Regions from separate parts of the Homo sapiens genome. Here region 2 is linked to region 1. Evidence: promoter capture Hi-C in human tissues and cell types (Jung and others, 2019). All regions are on one chromosome and are shown on one strand. The core of a region is centred on a gene start or on the middle of the fragment in contact, and the rest is flanking DNA. Distances in the headings are between cores, read along the strand shown. Region 1 holds the start of MSANTD4 (Myb/SANT DNA binding domain containing 4 with coiled-coils). Region 2 overlaps GRIA4 (glutamate ionotropic receptor AMPA type subunit 4).

The links. The method cuts DNA at HindIII sites, captures the fragments that hold promoters and counts their contacts. A contact is called where the count stands out against the background at its distance.
Region 2: a contact is called between a fragment that was not itself captured here and the fragment with the promoter of MSANTD4 in region 1, in 1 of the 25 tissues and cell types used here (mesenchymal stem cells).

Annotation. Positions count from the first base shown.
Region 1 is chr11:106,020,864-106,023,563 of GRCh38, reverse strand. MSANTD4 (Myb/SANT DNA binding domain containing 4 with coiled-coils) reads left to right here and starts at 1,324. Exons shown (of 3, transcript NM_032424.3): 1 at 1,324-2,602. RefSeq lists enhancers at 783-852, 1,683-1,802 and a silencer at 1,243-1,352. The HindIII fragment of the contact is 5,723 bases long and covers 1-2,700 here.
Region 2 is chr11:105,631,340-105,634,039 of GRCh38, reverse strand. All of the region lies in intron 3 of GRIA4 (glutamate ionotropic receptor AMPA type subunit 4), which reads right to left. Among named protein-coding and RNA genes, the nearest start is that of GRIA4, 23 kb to the right of the region's middle. The HindIII fragment of the contact is 3,653 bases long and covers 1-2,700 here.

The DNA of each region.
Region 1 (2,700 bases), core at 75-2,574:
TTAAATTTAGCAAATAAACATATGGATACCAAATATTCCATTGGACAGATTAAAAATTATTTGCTTTTTATCTGAACTTCAAATTTAACTGAGCGTCCTGTTTTTATCTGGCAAACCTACAGGGAAGGGAATACTTGGAAGTGGAGGGAGGGTGAATGGAGATAATTTTGGAAGCCTTCCTTTAGAAAGGAATTTCTAAAAATGAATGCTAGGCATAGCGGAGAAGCAGGGAGGAAACACAGCAATGCAAACTGACTTCCCAGTAGCCACTGTAGAGTTCAGGAACTGAAAGAAGCAAAGGGAATGGGGTAAGGAAGAAGAAATGTGGGTATAATGTCGAGAGATGAAGGTTGAGGGAAAAGTAGGTGCCTTATTTTTCAGGTTCGATAAGGAGTTTGTACTGTATCACCAGTGGTGAGATTCCACTAAAAAACTTTAAGCAGCTCATTTTGGCTACAACGTGAAGAATGAACTACAGTCCGGCAGACAGGATGTTGGGAGACCAGCTAGGAGGCTACTGATGGAATTCAGGTGAGTCCACAGAGGCCTGGACAGAGGCAGCGGGAAGAAAGGTGCACTAATCACAAACACCTGAACGTGAGACGGCAGAAAATAAGCAACTGCAAACTTGAATATAGAGGAGGACTGGGAGAGAAGAAAGCAGAAGCACATATTTGGGGAAACAGTGAAGAATGGTAAAAAAAAAAAAAAAAAAAAAAAAAAATTCAAATGTCTTCTGGGAAGTATATAGTATGATAAGGACTAAGAAGTGACTCCTAGATTTAGCCATAAGGAAGTCACCAGCGACCTTTGGCACGGGCAGCCTTAGAGGAATGGCTGAGGCCAATTAGGTCGCAGCTGGTCGAGGAGAAGGTGATGCTGGCCTAAGAACCCGACTGGAGCAGCACAAGTTTCCTACTTCTTCTTTGCCCTTTTAACAGGTGAGGGTCAAGGACAAGAGACGAGTTTGGAGATGCAGCGGCCAGTGCCCCAATCAGTTGGAACAGCGCAGCAAGCGGATCTCTAGGGGCCAATCCCTTCCTAGAGTCCACTTGACTGACAGAGCTGCGCGCCACAGACGGGGCACAGACAGGGAGGTGAATCACGAGGGGGCGGAATTCCAGGGCACTAACCCGGAACCGGTTTGGGACTTGATTCCCATTGTGAGGCCAGGCCTAGGGCGGGCTCTCAGCCAGAATGGCTACACCATTCTAACCAATGGATGAGACTCATCAAATGAGCGGCAGCCATATGAGCCATTGGGGTGGCGGGAGATGGGCGGGCCCAGTTAGTGGGCGGGGGATCAATGAAGCATCTTTTTTCCTACCCCCCTTGGGGCGACCGTGGGGAGGTGCCGCCGGGGTCGCAGGTGAGCGGTTCTATGCTGGAGGAGGCGGCCAGGGAAGCGGCGGCTCCGTGACCAGTGGGTGCCCTCGCAGTGGGTAGGGTCCCGGAGGGGTCAGCGGCAATTGGCGCAACGCTTGCTGCCGGGTTTGGTCCAAGGGCTGCGACGTAGCGGGACTGCACGCTCGGGAGAAGTGCCACGCGCGTCTGTCGCCTGACCGGGGAGGCTGGGGAGGGCCCAGGCCACGGAAACAAGACTGCAGAAGTTTCTGGGCACTCAGTCGGGACTCTCATTTAATACCCAGAGAGAGGAGATCTTCCAGGTTGCCCCGACTCCCACCGGGACTCCTACCAGCAGCAACCTCATCATTGTGGCCGAGGCAGGTGCGCGCCCCTGCTCCCCTGGGTGGCCTTCCGGGAGCCCAGTCTAACTCGATTCTTCCCAGGGGCTCTTTTTGGACGGTCCCAAAGGAGGCAGCGGGAGGGAGGTGAAAGATACTTTGATAACCGTCGACCCATAAGTATACTTGTTATGCACCTACCACGAGTTTTAGAGAAGAACATACTTTTTGGCAGGGAAGTGAATCCCCTATAAGAATATAGGGGAGGGGAAAGCCACACTTTAAAGAGAATTTGGGTAGGGTTTGATATTGTAGATTTGTGATGCTTTTCTTCTTGAACTGCTTAACTAATTTACCCTCAAATTTTTTTGATCCGGAACTTGCCGTCTGGTTTTTCTCAGACTTCTTAATTCTGACTTATCATGAAGTATCTAGGAACTTCATTCTCAAGTTTTAGTGCTTGTAAAAAGTTGCCTGGTTATATTATGCCATTGGCAGTACATCATCTTCACAAGGATTACGTAAGTGAACTACATCTCATTCCTGTTTCCAACTAGTGAAGAACGATTGTGAAATGGGATTTTAGAAAATGGCTGTTCTCTGTGATTGGGCATAGAAGGTTTGTAAGTTTTAGAGACTGCAGCTGTTGAATCCTTTCTGCTAAGAGAGCGATGACAGGCAATAGAAAAGGGATAGTGTTTGACATCTAAAATGACATATTTTCACATTTTATGAGGTGTTATATCCCCAGCACCAAAAATAGTGCCTTTCACACAGTAGGAGCTCAGTAAGTATTTTTTGAGGAAATTATTGGGGAATGAATGGATGGTAGAAAACCCAAGCTTCTGTTACTTGGATACCGGCATATAAAGGAGAGGACAGGAAGACAAACATTTCTGGAAATGGCTTTTATCCAGGTAAGCATATCTACAGAACTTCAACAACTCAAGATGCATCAATGCTGGCACTTTCTTGCACTTAATCAGAAAATATCAAGGTTTTAGAAGAAGATTTT
Region 2 (2,700 bases), core at 165-2,664, 390 kb after region 1:
CAGCCCTTTTGGTTACTACTATTGTCTCTGTTTTGCAGATCAGGAAACTGAGACTTAGGAAGATTGAGTAACCCGCCTAATGTCTTGGTATCTGGGAAGTGGAAGAAACTGTTTTTAACATAAGTGCACTAAGCACCAGGTTAGTTCTAAAAGTCTCAGTTTCCAAGTCATTTCTAGTTCTTTCTCAGCATCGTTTTGAGGCTCCATTAGGATAGGCTAATGGAAAAGTTTTGTAAATAGTAAACTGGTTGTCATTTATGTGATTTCAGAGAGTCTCTTCCAGGTCTGTGATTCTGATATTGTTATTTAACTAAGTCTGAAATACAGGTCTTAAGAATGTAGAATTTGTGTTTCTGTGGTTCTAGAGATTCCTAAACTTGCCTTCAGTTATTCTAATGAGTTACATCTATAGACTCTTTGATAAAAAAGCATGGTCATGGAAGATAAGTTTGTTTTTCTTTAATAGTCTCTAAACTCCAGTGCAATTACACTTGATCTGCAGATTCACAGCTTGAATAATAATGCACATTTGCATTCAGAAATATTTACTAAGGGTTTAGTACAATTTTTACTAAGGGTTTACAACAAATATACTGTGCTATGAACTATATTCAGGGGATATAAAGGAAAAATAGATATAGACTCTGCCCTCAAGAAGCTCATAGTCTATTGAACAGATTGTAAATTGACATTTCAAAATTAGTTTCTTTGAATTTGACAAAAAATAAATATGTAGAAATATGTATAAATCTTCTAAGAAATGCCAACATTGTCAGCTGTGAAACACATGCACATTAAAAATGAATCTTTTGAATTTAAGTTCATTTTCAAACAGAAATCCATATAATGGCATAATAAATTCATCTTTTCAAATGGCACTAATTCATTGAGTCGTTAGTGAGCACCTATAGAAGTTACCTTTCTTGTAACAGAAAATAAAACATAACACACTATGATACACTTGACAGCTAACTCAGTCAGCTCCAAAACAAACTCATAATATTGCTTTAGGACCTTTTATTTCATATGTATTTCCTGGTGAACAGCACCATCTTCCCAAGTTACAATTCTCAAGACCCCTTTTCTCTCACCTCCATCAGCCATTGAAATGTGCATTTTATTTTGTATACATGAGGCTTGGCTCAGGGAATGATACAAATTATTATTTCTGTGTTTACTGTGGTTATATTAATGCTTAGAGGTCCATGCCTAAACACTTTTAACACTTTCTACAAAATTTTTTCTTTCTTTTTAATTATTTATTATTTTGGAGAAACGGGGTCCCGCTGTGTTGCCCAGACTGGTCTTGAACTCTTGGCCTCAAGTGTTCTGCCTGCCTCAGCTTCCCAAAGCACTAGGATTATAGTCAGCCACAATGCTTGGCCCCTAAGCACTGTATATGATGTATTTTAATGCACATTGCTTTAGATATTTCTAGTAAAATCAAGGCAAGTTGTCATTCCCATTAATTTATAACTTAGACTCTGAAACTCAAAGAGGATGATTAATTTGTCAACAATTCACATAGCTAATGAACAGCAAAGCTGGGTGCTGAATCCAGGCCTTGCTGCAGAGGCTATGCTCTTCTACACCAGAGAGCCAATTTTGGAAGAATGGAAGTGTTTCTACAAATGAAAAAAATGGGGACAGACATTAAAGCAGTGCTATGGTCTTTGAAACTGGGAAAGTGGAAGTGTAAACAGACATATTTGGAGTAGAGGTTCTTATGTGGAGATGAGATGGGGTGTCAGCTAAAACTTTAGACTGAAGAGAACCCAAAACAGTAAGAAATTATAAGAGATGAGAGAGGAGTAAGACTTTAATTCAGTCCATTTCACTTTCTTGTGTCTATCCTCTTTATTCTCTAAATTGATACTGCATACCCATGACAGAATTACGGTTCTTGAATTATCAATCCCCTGTCCAAACCATCCCTGTTATCAAATTCAAACTTTTATTTTATTTGCTTCTAAAGTCCTGAATTTATAATTAGGCTTTTGCCCTCCTGTTTTCCCTCCCTCCAACACTATTCATTCATATCCAATGAGATGCTTTCCTGTGCCACCTCATCCCTTTTTGTAGCTTAGGGTTTTTTATTTGCTCTCTTCAACACTCTTTTATACCCCTCCTTGACCTCCTCATTCATTCAAGATTAAACTCCACTTTATTAAGTCTTATTTTTATAAAATCTGGCCCCTCCTAATAGTATTTCTTTGGCAATTATGATACAATGCACAACACCTTCTGATTTAACACATACTTATCACCTTATTCATAACAAGTTGCTTCTGTCTTTCCAGCATATAATAAGCTTTGTAAGGCCCAGTATCAAGTCTGACTTTTTTTTCAATAAAGTGTGTGGCACAGCAAAGAAAGCAAGACAGTTGCCAAGTGAACACTCAGTTAATTAAAGTTACAACTGAACACTAAAGAAGCTGCATATTAACAGGGGCAAATAACTTGGTAGCAAACACACACAGATGCATAAGGAATATAGAATATAGAAGTGATAAATAGTTTGTTATCTATGAGACAATATGAGTGGTTCAGATTCACAGTTGTTGAGTCTAATCTGGGGCTGCCAAAGGATTTTGTTTTATTTAATTGCTCATTTCTCTCCATATAAATTCTGACATCTAAGTATATCGGTCCAATTTTACTTCATTAATCAAATTAGTCTGGGTAATGGACAGTCTTTTT